7 separate regions of the Homo sapiens genome follow, and regions 1, 2, 4, 5, 6 and 7 are each linked to region 3. Evidence: promoter capture Hi-C in 16 types of primary human blood cells and fetal thymus (Javierre and others, 2016). All regions are on one chromosome and are shown on one strand. The core of a region is centred on a gene start or on the middle of the fragment in contact, and the rest is flanking DNA. Distances in the headings are between cores, read along the strand shown. Region 1 holds the start of LEPR (leptin receptor). Region 2 overlaps TYW3 (tRNA-yW synthesizing protein 3 homolog). Region 3 holds the start of LRRC40 (leucine rich repeat containing 40). Region 4 overlaps SLC35D1 (solute carrier family 35 member D1). Region 5 overlaps LRRIQ3 (leucine rich repeats and IQ motif containing 3). Region 6 overlaps MIER1 (MIER1 transcriptional regulator). Region 7 overlaps MIER1 (MIER1 transcriptional regulator).

Evidence for each region. The method cuts DNA at HindIII sites, captures the fragments that hold promoters and counts their contacts. A CHiCAGO score of 5 or more calls a contact.
Region 1: a contact is called between the fragment with the promoter of LEPR here and the fragment with the promoter of LRRC40 in region 3, in 1 of 17 cell types (total CD4 T cells). The highest score is 6.1, in total CD4 T cells.
Region 2: a fragment that was not itself captured here is called in contact with the fragment with the promoter of LRRC40 in region 3 in 4 of 17 cell types (non-activated CD4 T cells, total B cells, naive CD8 T cells and 1 more); the score reaches 8.3 in non-activated CD4 T cells.
Region 4: a fragment that was not itself captured here is called in contact with the fragment with the promoter of LRRC40 in region 3 in 1 of 17 cell types (total CD8 T cells); the score reaches 5.3 in total CD8 T cells.
Region 5: a fragment that was not itself captured here is called in contact with the fragment with the promoter of LRRC40 in region 3 in 1 of 17 cell types (non-activated CD4 T cells); the score reaches 5.2 in non-activated CD4 T cells.
Region 6: a contact is called between a fragment that was not itself captured here and the fragment with the promoter of LRRC40 in region 3, in 2 of 17 cell types (monocytes and total CD8 T cells). The highest score is 5.7, in monocytes.
Region 7: a contact is called between a fragment that was not itself captured here and the fragment with the promoter of LRRC40 in region 3, in 2 of 17 cell types (naive B cells and total B cells). The highest score is 7.7, in naive B cells.

The regions. Positions count from the first base shown.
Region 1 is chr1:65,419,369-65,422,068 of GRCh38, reverse strand. It overlaps LEPR (leptin receptor), which reads right to left and starts at 1,401. Exons shown (of 20, transcript NM_002303.6): 1 at 1,329-1,401. LEPROT (leptin receptor overlapping transcript) reads right to left here and starts at 1,401. Exons shown (of 4, transcript NM_017526.5): 1 at 1,329-1,401. The coding sequence starts at 1,344. RefSeq lists enhancers at 898-947, 1,021-1,554, 1,555-2,087 and silencers at 1,318-1,817, 1,838-1,907. The HindIII fragment of the contact is 9,332 bases long and covers 1-2,457 here.
Region 2 is chr1:74,737,528-74,740,227 of GRCh38, reverse strand. TYW3 (tRNA-yW synthesizing protein 3 homolog) reads right to left here. Exons shown (of 6, transcript NM_138467.3): 3 at 1,440-1,538. Among named protein-coding and RNA genes, the nearest start is that of TYW3, 5.7 kb to the right of the region's middle. The HindIII fragment of the contact is 226 bases long and covers 1,156-1,381 here.
Region 3 is chr1:70,204,236-70,206,935 of GRCh38, reverse strand. It overlaps LRRC40 (leucine rich repeat containing 40), which reads left to right and starts at 1,357. Exons shown (of 15, transcript NM_017768.5): 1 at 1,357-1,546. The coding sequence starts at 1,396. It also overlaps a transcript of SRSF11 not described here. RefSeq lists enhancers at 1,134-1,443, 1,704-1,763. The HindIII fragment of the contact is 8,465 bases long and covers 1-2,700 here.
Region 4 is chr1:67,017,384-67,020,083 of GRCh38, reverse strand. The region is part of intron 10 of SLC35D1 (solute carrier family 35 member D1); the gene reads left to right. Among named protein-coding and RNA genes, the nearest start is that of SLC35D1, 35 kb to the left of the region's middle. The HindIII fragment of the contact is 152 bases long and covers 1,336-1,487 here.
Region 5 is chr1:74,192,735-74,195,434 of GRCh38, reverse strand. The region is part of intron 1 of LRRIQ3 (leucine rich repeats and IQ motif containing 3); the gene reads left to right. Among named protein-coding and RNA genes, the nearest start is that of LRRIQ3, 4.1 kb to the left of the region's middle. The HindIII fragment of the contact is 877 bases long and covers 882-1,758 here.
Region 6 is chr1:66,952,840-66,955,539 of GRCh38, reverse strand. The region is part of intron 4 of MIER1 (MIER1 transcriptional regulator); the gene reads right to left. Among named protein-coding and RNA genes, the nearest start is that of MIER1, 29 kb to the right of the region's middle. The HindIII fragment of the contact is 2,127 bases long and covers 338-2,464 here.
Region 7 is chr1:66,931,015-66,933,714 of GRCh38, reverse strand. All of the region lies in intron 2 of MIER1 (MIER1 transcriptional regulator), which reads right to left. Among named protein-coding and RNA genes, the nearest start is that of MIER1, 7.4 kb to the right of the region's middle. The HindIII fragment of the contact is 2,514 bases long and covers 69-2,582 here.

The DNA.
Region 1 (2,700 bases), core at 152-2,651, 4.8 Mb after region 3:
ATCTGTTCTCCCACCGCATCTGAGCCCAACATAAACACTGACATAGTAATATAATTATTTCCAGCTCTGTCACCCACCAATAACTTCTCATTTATCTTTGTATCCTAAGTCTCTGGCATACAGTAGTTCCTCAATAAAAGTTGAACAATCTGTAAAATGCTTCCTTCCCTTAGTCCGTTTCCATTTCAGACTTCCTTTTTTTTCACTACATCACAATTTTCTAACACATTCACACATAAACGTGATCATGATTTGGTAGTTTCTGATCATGTGTAGTACTGAGACACTACTTTTCATCTGTTTTCGGCATTGGCTTCAAATGGATATATAACACAGTCGACACTCTCCAAGTAAACCATGTTTACTAAACTGATATTAAGTATAAAAGTCAGCCAGAAATAACGATAAAATGTCTGCTGCTAACAGCTCACATACTCGGATAAATTCATAGTGAACAGAGGCGTACTCGTATATATACTATCTACATGTTTATAGCAGATGTTAACTGGGGATATCTTTGGGTGCAAATTTCAAGGATGATATAAAAGCCAATATAAAAACAAGTCATGCTACTCTATTCGACAGATTAGAAATGGAATGTTTTCCTACCAAAATACAGGAAGCCTTGCAAAAAACCTTTTCCGTCTCGCATTGCTCTGAAGCCATACAGATAAGGGACGCGGTGTTTTTACCAACTGCCCCATGCAAAAAACACATACTACACACACACTGGTTTCTTCTCTGTCCATAAACAGAGAAAACACCGAAGAAAGCAGTATTAAAATTACACGTAATCTACTCTCCACGACTGCGAGAAACACCGTCTTTCTGGGTGCTTTCCATTGACACCCGCCCGCGGTCAACTCTGCCCAGTTGGAAAAATCATTAGGAAAAAGAGGATTAAGTTTCCCAATGCTAAGAACGCTGGAGACAAAGGGTCCTTTGTGGCAAATAGGAAACTGCGGAGGGGCAGAAAACCAGAAGAAAGGCGTTAGGGTGGCGTCAAGAAGTGGAAACCTTGTTTAAAAACTCAGGAGAGGTGGAGGGCGCCGCTCTCGCCGAGGGCTCAGGCTGGGGAGGGGTCTGGTGCCGCCACTGGAGAGCAGGAAGGCCAGCGGCCTTGCAAAAAGGGCCAAGGCTCCCCCGAAACGCCGCTCCACCCACACCCCAAGGGACGAAGGGAGCGGTCGATCGCCTCCCGAACCGGAGAGGCGGGAAGGGTGGTGAGGCCGTTCCCCAACGGCGCGCGGAAGGCGCAGCCCCAGGCTTGACCGGAACGGAGGTGGCAACCCCACCACACGACAAGCGAGCCGGGGACCGCGATGTACCTTTAACGCCCGCCATGTCTCCCGAACTGGGGCCGCGGCTGCTTCCGGCTTCCTGCCACGGCCCGGGCAGCCTGCCCAAGCCAGACCGGGAGTCGCCCCGCGGATCCCGAGCCCGCCCCGGCCACGCAGAGCCCCGCCCCCGCCGGTGCAGAACTCCGACCTTAGCTCGCAAACGCGGCGCCTGCTGCTCCAGACCCCGCCCCCACCACTCACAACCCCGCCCCCGCCGGTGCAGAACCCCGCCCCCAGCTCGCAGAGGCCGCGCCTGATAGTTCAGACCCGGCCTCGCTACTCAGAGCCCCGCCCCTGACAGTACAGAGCTCCTCCCCTACCTCGCGGAGGCAGCGCCTGCGGCTCCAGACCTCGCTACCGCTACTCGAAGCCCCGCCCCAGACAATGCAGAGCTCCTCCCCTAGCTCGCGGAGGCCTCCCCTGCTGGTCCCGCCCCAGCCCTCACCGGCCCAGAATTCCGCCCCCAACTCTCAGAGGCCGTCCCTGCTGGTCCCGACCCCGCCCCCGCCACCCAGAACTCCGCTCCTGCCAGTCTAGAACTCCGCCCCCAGCTCGCAGAGTCCATCTCCAGCCCTAAGGTCCCACCTGGTCCCACAGAGCTTTCCCAGAGTAACCCCAACCCAGTGCCCTGGGCCCTCCTCCTAGATCCTGAGCCCTCCAAGTAATCCTCAAGCCCGTTCAATGTGGGTTGGGACCTTGGCTCCGCCCCGACCGCGGGCCCAGAGTCTCTCCCCGGCCTCTCAGAACGCAGTGCACGCAGCGGGGGATCCTCCCTGAGCCTTCCTGAGAACGGAGATGTAGAAAGTGGGGAGAGGCAGGAGAGGGAAGGAGGGGAAAAGTTGCAATCGATGGGAGAGGGACACCGACTCACTAACCAGTGTTATGTTCCCTGAGCTCCCAAGTGCGTGCTAGTGTGCGAGTGTGTGCCTGTCTGCCTTCACATGACTGTGGCAGAGGAGAGGCGGGGTACCAGAGGACAGGCCCCTTAGGAAACACTCCTCATTAAGAACTTGATATTTGCATAGGTTTGCTTTGCTTAATAGCAACGCTTTACTGAAACTAGCGGGGTTTTTCTTTACTCCCTGGTTTATTTATAGAGACGAAGACCATATAAGCTTTTGTGTCCGAAGCTTTCATGAACCTTAAAAAAAAAAATAAAAAAAAAAAGCTATTATTTTTGTGCCTTGGGGCCTCAAAGTTTGCAGGTAACCAAGGCCAGTTTTTAGATCTCTGAGAGCCATTGTGTACTTATCTTACAGGAATGGAGAGTTCTGTTTTGGCAAAAGCAATCTAGAAGATCATTGAAACAGTCTGGTCCAAATGCTTCAACTTACATTTAAGGAAAGAGGTGCAGAAAGGA
Region 2 (2,700 bases), core at 19-2,518, 4.5 Mb before region 3:
CAGCTTCACTCCTGAAGTCAGCAAGACCACGAACCCACTGGAAGGAAGAAACTCCGGACACATCTGAACATCTGAAGGAACAAACTCCGGACATACCATCTTTAAGAACTGTCACACTCACTGCGAGGGTCCACGGCTTCATTCTTGAAGTCAGCGAGACCAATAACCCACTGGAAGGAACCAATTCTGGACACACTTCAACTTCAGCACACCCCATCTGGATAAAGGCGACTACCATACAGCTAGGGGCTCCAGCCAGACCTAAGTAGTTATCCTTGATTCCTCTTTCTCCTCCTCCCTCTGGCTGTCCTTCCCCAGACAACCTTACAATTCTGTTGATTCAAATGCTGAAATACATATTGAATCTATTCCTTTCTCACCTGCTTTGGTGCTATCACCTTACACCAACCTATCACCACAAACTACTCCTAACTCGTATCTTTTCACTTACTGCACTCCTTTCTCTATGCTGAAGCAGAACTGAGTTTTTCAGAACAAAAACCTAGAAAGCCACTCTTTGCTTAAAACTGTCCCTTCAATAACTTTTCCCTGAACTCAGAAAGAAATTCAAACTCTTTAATCTGGTCTACAAAGCCTTAAATGACCTGGCCCCAGCCTCCTTCTGGCACCTTCTTTCCACTCTCTAGACCCACTGAAACTTTGTATATACTTTTCCATCTTCATGGAATGTTCATTTCCCAGCTACATGCCTAGCTCTTTCTGTTCCTTTAAGTCTTAGCTTAAAGAAAGCTTTTCAGAGAAGCCTATCTTCAAGTGAGCTGCTTTTTGCACTGTTCTCTATTACCAGGTTGTTTTTTCCTTCGGTAGAACATTTTGCAACTTGCAGTTTGTTTTTTGTTTTTTTGCCAGTTCACTTGTTTGTTTTTGCTGTCTCCTAACTTTGGAAGAGGAACCAAGACAGTCTTTAATCTTGTTCATCACTGTGCCCCTAGTACTTGACACACTGAGACTCAATACATTATTGTTGCTTAAAATGCAATTCAGTTTTATATATAAATATATAAAAGGTATAAAAAGGAGAATCAAGACTAAACAGATGTTTACCTCATGCATGCTCATTTAAATGGGAAAAATGAAATATTCTTTAAAACTCTTAATTTTACATGTAGTTCCACAGTATTTTTTCTTAAAGCTTGGCAAACAAAAACAAACTATAGAATGCTGAAGTAAAATTTATAAATAAAAACGTTAAGAAAGAAAACAGGAAGCATAACCTGGGACTTATATTTTCCTAGCAATGATTAGCTACTCTTTTTTTCTAATATTAAAAATTAATAGATTGAGCAGACCAATAAATAATATATACATAACTAGTTGAATAAGGTAATATCTCATTGATATTTATAGCAGGTTAAAAGCTTAAAATTACATCTACCCACATATCTATAAATTCAAGTACAATTACAACAAAATTTTACCAGAATCTGTGCATCCTGCAATTGTCGACACTGCACATGAAGAACAAATGGTTCAAATTTCAAAGTGGCATCACCATTTGCTTTCTTCAGAGCTACAATCTAAATAAATGAACAGTGGTATCAGATGCAAGTATATGGCCTGTCCTTTGGCGACCCTTTACCCCATACATAACTTCAATTTCTCTTAGAAATTTTCAGAATCACTCAGCATATTTTTTCTGCAGTAACTTTTCCCTCTGCTTTCTTGGTCCTTTTTCACCAAAAATTTATTTGCTTATTTTCTTAAAATTTCTAGTTCTCCCGTAAATCTTCTATACCATTCTTTCCACCTATTAGTGTGCTTTGAAGAAGTAAACTACTACTTTATTTAATTCCATAACGGATTTTTCATTAGGAAATGTAGTATACAAAAACTGTATTAGGATTGTTTAAATTTTTTGTTAGATTGAGATAGAGACAAATGTAATGTGAGAGAAGGGTCCAAACAAAGCCTAACTGCCACCCATGTTCCCAAGAAGCATCCTGTACCAAGCACCAGTGCTTACCAGCAGCACTAGTAAGCTCACAAATAGCAGTGCATGCAAAGAGCTCAGAGCACAGCCAGTGAGTTCCTGTTCCCTCTGTAACAGGCACAGTTGTTGTAACAATTGCAACTTGCAGTTTTTTTGTTTGTTTTTTTTTCCCTGTTCACTTGTTTGTTTTTGCTATCTCCTAACTTTGGGAGAGGAACCTTGGAACTGCTCAGCTACATGAGAACCAATGGCCCCTGAGCACGTTCCTAGCTTTCTGTATTTCAGACCCTATGGGGCAGTGTTCAGGGTCTGGGAGCTACTGCAGCACAAAGTGGGGTACATGCCATCACTCTGCCCTGATCAGCTGTGGAACCAATCTGCTAGCCATGGGGACTGACACATTGCAAAGGGCTAGATCTTGTGTAGTCTCTTCCCTCCTGCTATAAGCAAATGTTACAACACTTGAGCCTAGTATGCGTGTTTTTTGTTAGTGACCTTGAGTCAGGTACTAGTCTCTTCCCTAGGTAGCACTTGCCTGCCTTTTAACCTTGGCTGCACCCATGTTACAGTGTATCCTGCGGCGTAGTCTGACCACCTAGTGAAACATGTAATATTGTGTCTGAGCTAGAATTTATACAAGACAGTTATTATTTCTGTCTGCCCAGCATCCCCGGGCAACATCGTCCTGCCTTCACACCATTTGATTTCTGGTGGGGCTGTCAATCATTACCCTGTCACACATCACTCTC
Region 3 (2,700 bases), core at 108-2,607:
CTAGGCGACAGACCAGACTTTGTCTCAAAAAAAAAAAAAAAAAAAAGACAAAAATCCACTCTTTGCTTTTTTAGTAGGGTAACAACTATTGGTAACTTTCTCTTGTTCGATATTAGTGTAAAGGACTCCACAGAAATAAGAACAAAAAGGGTAGAGTTAAAAACCGAATTTTACAGGTAGCAATAACCTGGACTCAGGTAAAAGTGCGTGATGAAGAATTGATCAAAGGGCCTTCATCCTAGCTTTCAACTATTCTACCAATCCTCAGTAGACTTGATGGGGGTTAGAATGGTATTCCCTGGCATATGCTTTTAAAACAAAATCATTTCAGGCAAAAGAAAAGTCTAGCACCCAGGATAGTACACATACTAGGCAGGATTAATCTTAATAATTACTTGTTGAATCAAGAAGTTGTACATTTCAGATGAAAATTTTAATTTCCTAGGAAACACCGACTTACATTGAACAAAATTTTCATTTGCTATTATTCTGGACTCACCGAGAGCTCAAGATTCTAGTTTTTATCTTCACTTATTTCAAAAACCTTATGCGGTAGGAATTATCCCCAAAGTAATGAAAAAAAGGAATGAGCTTTAAAAGCGGTTGAGTAAACTGCCTAAAGTTAACAGTTTCTAAAGTAAAGAAGCAGCTGAGATTTGAACTTGCTTTTTAGGGCTCAAAAATCCAAGCTGTCTGAGCTTCACTAAAGCATGTACCACTACTTGTCTCCCTAAACTGTCTGATACACAGAACATTTATTAAATTTTAAGGATTTTTGTTTTTGTCTTCTATGTTGCCAGTCCTTCCATTTCACATTACCTCCTTTGCTGGGTAAGCTATATACCCTCAATACAACGAGAATGGTGTCAGAGTACAAGCCTTAAGAACAGAAAATTTCTTTTACTCCGTACGCCAGAGGTCTGGCGCCACCACCACAAGCGACAAACACAGGCTGGGGTCCAGAAACGCTGCCGACCGCGCCCAGATCTCAAGTTTTAGTCAAGGCCCACGTTCAGACTAGGAGAGGGGAGAAGAGAGGGTTCTCTTTCCCCACACCCTCGCCACGGTGGAAGCACAGAGGAGAAGGTTGGAGTCGCAGTAACAGTGCAAACAATAAACCCGAAAGCCCCTCTTAAGCCCGTTAAACGCACTTACTTGATTGAAGTAATTCCAGGACGCTAGGCCGGCACCGGCAACGGAAAAGGCTTCTCTGTCCTCCAGCCCAGGCGCTGGTGCTGACGACATCTGGACTGCGCCGCAGAGAGTGAAGGCCCAGCGCGAGGCCGCGAGCCCAGCGCCCAGAGCGCGCGCTCACGAAAGGAGCGGGGCATCCCAACGGCGCCACCTTTAAGCGTCACGGGTGGGGCTGCAGCTTCTGGACCTAGGACTTTGAACATGTCGCGCCTGAAGCGGATAGCGGGGCAGGATCTCCGCGCTGGTTTCAAAGCAGGTGGAAGAGACTGCGGTACCTCGGTACCCCAAGGGCTGTTGAAGGCAGCGAGGAAGAGCGGCCAGTTAAACCTGTCGGGTAGAAACCTCAGTGAAGGTAAGACCCAGAGGTACGACCCTATTGTGTCTCCTGTCAGAAAGCCTTTGGCCCAGGCAACCTCCCTTTTCTCTGGGCTGGCTTTGGCCCCCTTTCTCAGACTGCTAGCCAGAATTTCTGTGCTCTAATCTAATCCCTGTGCTCATTTCGACCGGTTTGGTTAGCCCAGTTCAGTTCCTTCCCAGGTTCCCGCAATCTCTGTTAAAGGGACCCTGCTAAAAATACGGTCTAAATTTAAACGGGGCGCTTTCTGGGATTCCCACATTCTGTGGGATAAGCAACATAATATGTGACGAAACCAGCTATCAAATCACGGGCAAATCTTTTGTTTCTTTGGCCCTTATTTTCCTCCTCTTATTGTAATCTTCAAGGGCAATTACCAAAGCTAAAATTATATGTTTTATCGGCCCCTTTGTGAACCTGCACTGTTCCCTGCCGAGACGCTCTTCTGTATGCAGCTGTGCAGAGTTCTACTTACAAGGAATAATGAGTATATTTTCTAAGTTGAAGATCAGGATAGATGCCACACAGAGTGTTTGAATGTGGGGACATCCTGAGAAACCTGTTAAAGACCAAGAAGCACAAATCTGGGTACCATGAATGAATGGCCAGATGCTCTTCTGATTGTCGTGTGTGTGTGTGTGTGTGTGTGTGTGTAAGAGAGAGAGGGAGGGGAATGGAGAGATGGAGAAATAGAGCATTTTTCCTGTAATGTTTTTCTTCATTTATATTTAGGTTTTAAGACTGATTAAAACCTTCCATTTTCCTTCTAATGATTGCTTTCTTATTGTGACATGTATAAAGTAGATTAGGCAAGCAAATGCTTCTGAATGAATGAAAAGACACAGAATCCTTACTCCACCTAAAAGAGTTTTTGATCAATGGGAACATACTCATTTTCAAACTACAGTTGTGCATATATATATATCTACTTGGTTTCCCCAAAACCTGAAACATTTTTCTCTAAACTTGCATACCTATCATGCTAACATTCTGTTCTCTTACCTGTTTAATTTTTTAACAGCATTTATCACTATCAGAATTTATATCATTTATGTTTTTTGTTTTCTCTGCCCTCCAACCAAAAGGTTAATATCATGAAGTCAGTGAGCTTTGTTTTGTGCTTTGTTGTATTTCTATCACTGAAAATAGTG
Region 4 (2,700 bases), core at 162-2,661, 3.2 Mb after region 3:
ATAGCTTGGTAGTGATAAGCCTGTCCCTTTAACCCCTAATGAGAACTGCTGTGTTCTCTGCCTCACTGAGGTCTGGCTGTTTTGTAGGGAAAGTATGCTGGCCAGAAGCTAATTGGGGGGGTTTTCCTATGCCTGAGCCAAACCTTAAATGGCTCACTTTTGAAAGCTGTGTCTGACATTTCCAATGATCTCATTTCCTCCTGATCCATTTTATTTGAGGCAGACTAATTTGTCTTCAGCCAGGAGAGCCAAGTTGACTTGAATATTGAGCTAAAGTTGGTGGCTTGAAGCCTGAGGCCTCTTTCATCTGACTTTGTGATTCTAGTGCTTTATGATTCAAGAGGCCACAGCTTGTCTGAATTCCAAATGAATTAGCCAAGTGGGCCTGCTTCCTTAAAAAGGCAAAACCCAGAGAGGTAGGTCCTTAACGTTTGGGGAAAAGAGGGCCATTACCCTTGTGACTTCCTTTCTGATGCCCCATTACTCAGTAGTGAGGGAAGAGATTTCAGAGGTCAAGTTTTTACTGCTCTGCTGTTTATCTTTGTAGTCTCAATAGAGTGGTGCCCACCTGATCTCAGTTTAGAGACTAGATTGGGTTAAAATCCAGAAAGTCTGTGGTTTCAAATCATGAAATTGAACTGTTTGCTGTGAATAGAATTCCAAATTAAGCTGTAACAGGTCAATTTGTGTGAATTCCTTTAGAAAGCTAGAGACAATCTATATGCCAGGGATTGGGCTGGCTGAGACAGTTTTAGGCCCCTCCCCCAAATTAGCTCTAGGTATGTTTTGGTTTTGTAAAGTGAATGCCTCAAGGGCAAAGTGGATGGCTTTCGTCTTCAGCATAAGAGTAGCGAGAATGTGAGAAATAGGCCATGTTTTTAGTTAAGGAGACGGATGATGCCGGAAAGCCTATGTTTAATTTTAATAAGTAAACCTATTTGCCTGGGATTTCTTAGTGTACTTTATCATTATCAACATGGGATACAAATAAAGTCATTCTTGCTTATATAAGGTTTATACTTTCCTTTTGATATATGTTTCTCCTCACAGTAGTCCAAGAACTCCATGGATTTACTCATTCCAGGGTGATTAATTTTACTTACAAACTCCACAGGGAGGCAAAAACTGAATTGTCTGATTAGTTCACTACTGTTCTTGCTTCATACTGGTGCAGGGTATCACTGTTGAAGGATGGCTTGCACATGCAGACAGATGGGAATCTGCTGATACCCTTGCAGGGTCGAAGTCTCACAGGATACAGTGCAGCTTCTGTCATTAGCATCCCAGTTATAACCCATTTAGCTCAGCCATTCCTCCTACAAGAGGCTTTAAGCTTCCTTCTGTGCTTGAGAATCCCCTGCAAATCCTTCGGTCAGCATTCCTTTTTCTCTTCAGCATGGTGGGAAAATCACTTAGGATAACTCATTGAAAGTAGAAATTCCAAGGCCTACCCAGATAGACTCAGTCAGAATCTCTAGAGTAAAGCTTAGAAATGTTTATGTTTAACAGGGTTTCCAGGCAATTGTCGGGTATACTAAAGTTTGAGAATTGCAGTCTTAGTTTTGAGCTATCATGACTCTTCTGTGCTTCTTGATAATTTCTTTTTTGAAGACGTTGGTGTCTTTTCTTGATAGCCAGCCTTGCTTAGGATACCCTAATATATACCTACAGGTTTTCCAACTTCTGATTTTGAGCAGCATGGGTTGGATTCTCTGTCACCTTCATTTCTGAAGTTCCTTGGGCAACTTACATAAATTAATCCACCTCCCTGGATCCCTGTATTCAAATGACGTCCTGTTATACACTTTCCTAAGTTGCCTGCTAGCCTTGTTGTTACATGATACTTAATTTTATTTTTTCCCTTCAAATAATAGGAAAATCCTTTCTAAGGCAACCTCCTGTCTTCATCCTTAGGCCTAGAAGAGGCTGACATAATTTTGAAGGTTCTCTCAAAGGGCGTTTTATTAGAAAAATAATTTTGAAGTTTCTTTTTGGCCTTTTTCAATGTATCAATTTACTTTGTGTCTCATAGGCCTAATCTAGAGGCCTGTGAGAAATAAGTCAGATAAATATATTTTGGGGTAAAATATTTTAATTTCCTTCAGTCCTCACTTTAAAACTTCATAAAGTTTTATATATTAAAAGCCATTTGGGCCAGAGGTCATCAGAGATAGACAAAGAAGTGAAAAAACAAATCTAGATAAGCAGAAAAGAGTAAATTTAAATGTATTGCCCCATATCTTTTTTAGTCATAGTCCTAAGAATGGATTAAACATTTGTGTCCCATTTTAGAAGGTGGCATTGTAGGTACACTAGGCCTCTGTGTATGATGAAGGGAAACAGATCTTTAATAAGAGATGTTTTTGTGGAAACAGAAGAAAAAACCAAGGTTAATGTCTGGAGTAGTGTATAGAGTTTTTTAGAGTCCTTGAGGTATCTTCAGATTGCAGTGGCAATCTGACAGATTTTACTGGATTATAGTTCAAATCAGCATTGAAGTGAACTTTCTGAGTATTCTATACATCAGTAGGCATGAAGGCTGTTTGTATTTAACTTCTGATTTTTCCTGAAGTTTACGTTGTCTAGTTTCAGTTTGTAGGGCTTTAAGAAAAGCACAGTTTCAACTTTCAGTGGCTTAAAGTCAAAAATGGAAGAAAAATTTGAAAATGTTAGTTTGGAAACTTGTAGCCAGGAAAGAAT
Region 5 (2,700 bases), core at 71-2,570, 4.0 Mb before region 3:
GACTGTTGTGTGGAAATTATAGAGAAGAATGTTTTAATTTTCCCCCCTTCTTTATATGAGGAAGTTGAAGCCAAATGAATAGGGTCCTGGATTATATACTGTGGAGCTCGTAGTGCATGCTGTGGTCAGGCCAAGCTAGGGCTGTACTTGTTTCCAGTCCTTGTGCTTCATGGCTCTGTTTAACCACTGTTTCCTCCTGTTACCCTTCCTGACATGCAACGAAAGCAAAAATTGTCTTTTTGCAGTTTGTTTTATTTCGATTTATTTACTCAGCTAGCCTGTTCTCAATTTATTTCTTAAATATTTTTTTTCTCACTATGCCCTGTTGGAGGAACCCTCACACCCCTCAACTTTCTGTAGTGCAGAGAAACATTCTCCCACCCCTGAACTTTTATTATACTTCCTCCCTTAGTATTTTTGTAGATTTTTTTTCCAAATGGAGTTCCCCAGTAGTGTAATCATAATCTACTTTGTCCAAATACCAGGATGAGGTTTCGGGGAGGGGAAAGGGATAGGGAGAGGGCAAGTGGTTGAAGAATATAAATTAGTAGAGTCAAGAATTAAATTTTAATTAATGTAATACAATATTTATGACACTTAAGAAAAAGGTATTAATGGCTTAATTTTAGGAGATCCAAAATCTGTTCTATGAAAGCTAACCAAGGAATGTTTTGGGCTAGAAGAAATATTTGTCGTGCTAATTTCTTTATTAAGAGGTTGTGATTTCTGTGCAGATTATTTTCTGTGAATGTTTTTATTAATTTTGGCTGTTTAATATCCATCTTCTGGCTCACCACCTTTTAGTTTTTTCAGGCTTATGCTTTTGCAGTCTCCAAGTTGGAATAAAAATAAAAATTGAAAAATGAGGTCTCACAAAAGCTTTTTTTCTGAACAGAAGTATATAACCTTCTAAAATTCAAAAAGCCAATATATTTAAAGAAAAAAAGTTATAATTACAAATGAATTCTGATTCCTTGTTCTGAATGACTTTTCATGTCATTTGAAAACATATAGAATATGCCATGAAAATATAATGTTTTGTGCTACCAAGGTTATTTATATTAAGTTATAAATGCACTATATTCTGTGTTCATTTTCCAGGACACATGTACTAGTCTGACTGTTCTACTAGACTCTCCCCTTCTTAACTTTTAAAATATATTTTTTCTGTGATATAAAATTATGGCAATTCTTTTATATTTTTAGAGACAGGATTTTTATTTTTAGAGACAACCTTTCACCCATGCTGGAGTGCAATGGCAGATCATAGCTCACTCCTGGACTCAAGCATTCTCTTGCCTTGGCCTCTCAAAGTTCTGGGATTATGCAGGCATGAGTCACTGCACCGGCCCATGGCAATTCTTTATTAAAACAGTCGTTACTTAACAAATCTGTTATCCAAATAAAAAGTATTTAAAAAATATAATTTCTTTATTTTGTTAATAGAGATGCACTTAATATGTTGCAGACATTCTAAACTAAAAATAGTTTGTAATCACAATATGTATAAAATGTTACTGATTAGAATCCTTACAATTAGATTTTCTAAAAACTAAGACTTTTTATTCTTTTTTTATGATTTGATTTTATATGCAGATAACAGCTGTTGTGATAATTCTGGAGTCTAGTATTCAGATTTCCATCTAATATTATAGTTCATGCTTATAAAATAAATTACTTTCATGTAGACCATCAAATCTAATATTTTAATATATTACTTAAAATAATGATGATCTGTCTTCCAAGTATCTGAAAGCTTCAGTGAATAAGTGTTAAGTCTAAAGGTAATTAGTACACTCAGCAAAGACTTTCTTTGAAAACTTTTTTCCCAATATTTATTATGTATCACATTTGGAAAAGAAATAAATATACAAAATAAATAGTTTTTACTTCTTAATATTTAATTTAAATATTCATGAGTTATAACCTTGTATAGTTACACTTAATGTGTTTGCCATCAAAGTTGGGTGTGAAGATGAGATATAACTGATGTGCATTTTATTTTATAGACATGGTTTATATAGTGCAATTAAAATGTAGGATAATTTTTAAATTGGTACTTTAGTTGATACAAACTAAGGAAAGGTTTGCTGATAATGGTACTGATTTATTTTTAACTGCAGAATTTCTTTGAAACTGTGGTTGGAGACTTGATACGTTCTGTAACGTGTTGCTATACTTAATTTGCCTTTGAACATTATATTATTATTTGAACTTGATAATTTACAAATGTGTATATACATTTCACAAAATAGTTATAAAATTATCAAAGTCTAAAATGAATGAAAGTGACTAGATTCCTCCTCTATGTGCATATTTTAAATTTGCAACAAGTGGTAAAGGGCTTCCAACTTGGTAGAGGAGGATATATCAATTGTAGTGGTTTTTAGCTTCCCTTGGTAGGCAGTAGAATCATATGGGCCCATAGCTGCAATGATATGATTCAGGGGACATGCTCTGGGGCCTGGTCATTTGAGTTATTCCAGTTTTCAGATGTACAACATAAATAAATAATGAGAAACAAAATTGAAATGCTGCATGTGGTAGTTAAAACAAAATATGAAAAATCCCCACTTTTCCATAATGATTGGAAAGTTCGACAGAATATGTAGCTGAATAATATAAATAACTGACACATACGTTATATTCTGAATATAGAATACTAGTTTTTTCTGTAATTTATTACTCATGTTAATCTTT
Region 6 (2,700 bases), core at 152-2,651, 3.3 Mb after region 3:
TTCACTCCAAAAAAAGGTGTATTAGCAACCAAACAAATGCCCTCAGGCTCTCTACGATTGGTCTGTCTTATTAAGGGTATCAGAATTACCTTGAGGGCTTACTAAAATGGGCTGCTGAGCCTCACCCAACTTTCTGACCTAGTAAGTCTCCAGTGAGGCCCGAGTACCTGCAATTAAAAAAAAAAAAAAAAAAAAAAAAAAAACTCAGGTGATGCTAATGCTGCTGGTATGAGACTACCTTGAAAACCACTGATCTCACAGGTCTGGGATAAGATACCTGCAAATCACCCTTTCCAATGGGAGGTAATAAAGCTTGAACATTAACTTTAATAAAGCTTATCGTATGACATATGATATCCAGCTCAAATATTTGTCAAAAGGATAGGTGACATACTAACTACATGGAAAAAGAATTTTTCTTTTTTAACCATTATCAAGAATGTAGAATGTCTGACAATCATAGATTAAGGTTTTTCCCTCCTGGATATACAGATAAGAAGTGTGACTCACTTTGTAAAAATTCATTTCTCAGGCCAAGCGCAGTGGCTCACGCCTGTAATCCCAGCACTTTGGGAGGCTGAGGCTGGCAGAACACTTGAGGTCAGGAGTTCGAGACCAGCCTGGCCAACAAGGCAAAACCCCATCTCCACTAAAATTACAAAACAATTAGCCAGGCATGGTGGTGCACACCTGTAGTCCCAGCTACTGAGGAGGCTGAGGCAGGAGAATTGCTTGAACGCAGGAAGCAGAGGTTGCAGTGAGCTGAGATCATGCCACTGCACTCCAGCCTGGGTGACAGAGTTGAGACTCTGTCTCAAGAAAAAAAAAAAAGGAAAAAGAAAAAAATTCATTTCTCAAAGAAAAATTCTCCAACACCTCCAATATTGACTAAGCAGAGAACAGAGAGAGTCAAAAGTAGCCTGATCACAGTGCATTTAGAGGGGAAATGCTTGAATTACAATCGTAATAGAACTGGCACAGATGGAGAAAAGTCATTCAAGTCAGAGCAAATGACAAATGTATGGTACAGAAACAAAAATGAATAAGCCAGTCACCCTGATTAGAGCAGACATACCATTTACAGTAACTAAAAACAAAGTATCATTTCAGAAGGCCATACATTACTGAAAGATCAGTTATAGATTAATGAAAGTCAGGATTACTATTTTTACCTACTTTCTCTAGTTTTACGTAATTTTTAAAGGCTTCTGTTATACTCCTGACTCAATTTGAGCGTACTGAATAGTTACTGACACTCTGGAAGTATTTAGGGGAAATTACACACACAACAAAACACTCAACGTGAACTTAGGCAGGGGAAGATTTAGTTTGCTTGCCATGTGGGAATCCACTGCTATCATTCACTACACATTCACCTGTATTATGATCAGAACCTAAATTAAATTAGTGGTTGTGGAAAAGAAAAAATTGAAGAGATGCAACAGGATTCAACCAGGGATTAGGAGAGATGGAGGTCCTGGTGATGCTGAATCCCTGGTTCCATATATTCCTTGTACCCAACTACACTTTCATATACCTTCTAATAGTTTATTTTTACACAACGTTATTTTTAGATGGGCTTTATCACATGGAAAAAAAATACCCTTACTTATTCAATCAAGAAAATGCTTACTTATGCTGGGTGCAGTGGCTCACACCTGTAATCCCAGTACTTTGGGAGACTGAGGGGGACAGATCACTTGAGATCAGGAGTTCAAGACCGGCCTGGCCAACATGGTGGAACCCCAACTCTACTAAAAATACAAAAGTTAGCCAGGCATGGTGGTGTGGGCATGTAATCCCAGCTACTCAGGAGGCTGAGGCAGGAGAACTGCTTGAACCCAGGAGGCAGGGGCTGCAGTGAGCTGAGATTGTGTCACTGCACTCCAGCCTGGGCAACAGAGTGAGACCCTGTCTCAAGAATATTAAAAAAAAAAAAAAAAGGAAAAGAAAATGCTTACTTACTAGTATTAAACTTGTAACTCAAGCTGTCACCCAATATCAAGTGAGTAATATCAGCTTAGTAAGCAACAAAGAAAAAATCATCACCACCAAAAATACAAGTTGAAGCACGACAGTATAAAAAGTCTCTTATTTAATCTAAGGTAAAAGTGAAAATCTTGCAGCAAACTCCGGGCTACAACTATAATAAAAATCAGAATCAATTTTGCTGAGGAATCCTGTTTCAAATTGCAATAGCATGTATTTGTGTTCCTGCTTTGTGCTAACTGAAGTAAAGATTTAGCAAGCATAAACAAGCATCATGTAAGGATTATTTATTATTTCCCCTCCAAGCCTCTCCTACTCTCTACTTCTGTACTTGTCTTCTCACATGAAATGTTCTTTCTTCCATTCCAAGCACTTATTTTTCTTGAAAGTTCACCTCCTTGACCATAGTAGCTGACATAATTGGAATAACTGTATTCCCTGGCCGTAGATTTGGAGTGGACACATGACCCAAGCTTGTCCATACTTTGTTTCTGGAGTTTTATCAACAGCAACTTAAGAAAGAAGCATAGACTATCTCAAGTAGTAAATGTGGGAGACCTACAAACTGACAGCATAATATGAAGAAAGTTGGTCTGAAAAGACAAGTCAGGTGGGACACGGCTCACGCCTGTAATCTTAGCACTTTGGGAGGCCAAGGTAGGCAGATCACTTGAGCTCAGGAGTTCGAGACCAGCCTGGGCAACATGGCGA
Region 7 (2,700 bases), core at 76-2,575, 3.3 Mb after region 3:
ATCTTAATAGCTCTGAAGTATAAACATGAAAAAAAATTCATTATTAGTGTCGAGAATTATTTGAAGCTTAAATTCACTGCAGTGAAACACATTTTGCTTAGAGTAGAAATTAATGTTTTCATAAGTAACATTTAACATAATCCTTCGTTAAAAAAATCCAAATACACTCAAAAAATACTAAGCAAGGAGTCCATTTTAAAGAGAAATGGATAGGTGTGAAAGTGAATAAACAGATTATATACCCTCTTTGAAAGTACTAAAATACTTAAATAGAAAGAAGCAAATCCATTAATTTTCTCTTTATATCACAGAAATGTGGCCTAGGTGAAAAGACAGGTCTTGAATTGTCCATGGATTTTTTTCCTTGAGAAGAAAGTCCCTTACGTGTTTACAAACGCTAAAATACAAGACAAATTGTTCGTTCCCAAAGGTCCCTAGTACATTCCTTATAAAACCCAAAGGATTAACTATTTCTTCCTCTCATTTTTTCTCTCATTTTCCTCTTATTTTTGCAGTTAGTAAAACTGCAACTATCCTGTAATTTCCTTCAAGTGTGACTAGGAGAGCGTCCTTTTAGAAGGTTGGTAAATAATTTTAAGGGATAATAAGCAATGAGAAATATTGCCAAAAAGTATTAAGCAAGGGAGCATATGCTATTTATTCTAAGTACATTAAATACGGCTTTAATGTTATCACAACTGAAGAACCAATATATACTTCCTATTATGGACTAAGATAATCAGATCAAATATAAAAAATTAGTATATCCTATTCTCATCTAAAGCACTTTCTATTCAAGAATTAAATATTTTTCTGGAAAAACATGGTCAGGGTCATGCTCTTGTAGGAAGCATCAATTTTTTTTTTTAAAAGCCCAGAAGCATAATACCTACATTTTTCTCTGGAGACATACTTCTTCAATAACCTGTTTTCCCCCTCAGATTTAACAAATAGATATATACTGTTGCTTTGCACTTACTGTTACTTCACAAGCTATCCTTAAATCCTCAGATTTATTTGATCAAAAGCACAATAATTCAGCATCTGGATTATTTAATCACATGCTTTTATATTGGCTTCATAAAGAATGAATCTACTGAGAGCTCAAAGTAAAAGCCAACCAAGCATTTCTCCTTTGTCTAATTGTTTAAAACCACTGGTCTCAAAAATCGTCATAATTATTCAAGTATTGAGGCCAGGAAAACTATAAATCAATTGTACTTTTCACTTCTTCACCTGTCTTAGATTTTTTTGTAGGACACAGATCACGAAAGTTCCTCTAACTCTTCCCCAATTCACTATACATGAAACTATCTACAAGTAACTGAAGAATATAGAAGATAAATTGTTTAAAGATACCAGGTCATTAAATAAACACTAAAAACCAAATAAAAACAAAATTCCAGTTCTTTCCTTCTTGCAGTTGAACAATCCATGCGTTCCCACAAAACATTCCATTCTCCAACTGATAAAATATTTAAGAAAACTAAAACATACATTAGAAAATATTAGGAAATGATTAGTGAATCAAAATATTTTTTTCCTTTATCTTACAATAACGCAACCATCTTTAATTTTTAAAACAAAAAAGTTAACATAATTTCTTTTACATATTAGATTTTTTAGTTCCCTCGGCAATAAAATTTATTTTTTAAAAACACAGAAATTTTAAATTTAAGTTTTTTAACTTAAATTTCTCTGTATAAGCTATTTTCCTTCAGTAATATCTTGCCTTAGTATATGACTACACACCTCAAAGCTCAAACCATCCTGAGCAACACCATGAAAGAAGAAACCACATTACCTATGTAGCACATTGCTGCTTACCCGATATTCACTGAAAGGGGTCCACTGAAGACACTAACTGACAAAATGTATAAATCCAGCTACACACAACTCCTTAAACATGAAGGAAACAAACACTTAAGAATAAGAACCTCACCAGGACTAAAATCCAGGTACCGATTCTCAGTCTACTGGAACAAACGCAGTCACATTTTGGGGAAACAGAAAGTACTACGTTCTCCAATTCATGTGCCTGGAAATACAATTCTTTAACCACCAAGAGCAAAAGAAATGAAAATAAATCTAAGATCTAAATTTAGTTGTAAATTAGAGATATTGAATGTTTTAAAAAGAATACTCGCAGCAAACAGTCCTGTCTGCTACAGCAAAATCTCACCCTCCTTCCTAAATCTGTTTTGGGGTGCCTGTGAAACCATGAAAATGGCAATTCAAACAAGAGAAATGCCTTATCAATCAAAATTTACAGTGGCTTATTTCAAAGGAGTCATAAAAAAAATCCAAATACATCATCTCGAACTCTCAGGAATAAAGAATACTGAAATTCTTCCACGGGTAAGGAAAAACGGAAACAAAACAAATCCCACAAAACTTCAGATATTTTAAACATTTTTTAAACTTCCAGTTATTTAAAGTTCCAGTAGCGTATACTTAGTTCCGATTAATAAATCAACAGCAGTTGTATGCCCGCCAACTGCGGCCCAAATATGTAAAATCAAAAAAAGGGGCTTTAGGAACTTGTTTACTATAAAACGAGCAAAAAGAAACAAGAAAAAGCTTCTCCAATGAAAGAAAAATTAGAAGAGAAAGAAGACAAGAATAGGTAGCCTTGATTTGGAAAGGGGGTGGGGGGAAGCCTGGAAAGTGAAGGTGGTGGGGGGAGGTGGAAAAGCAGCT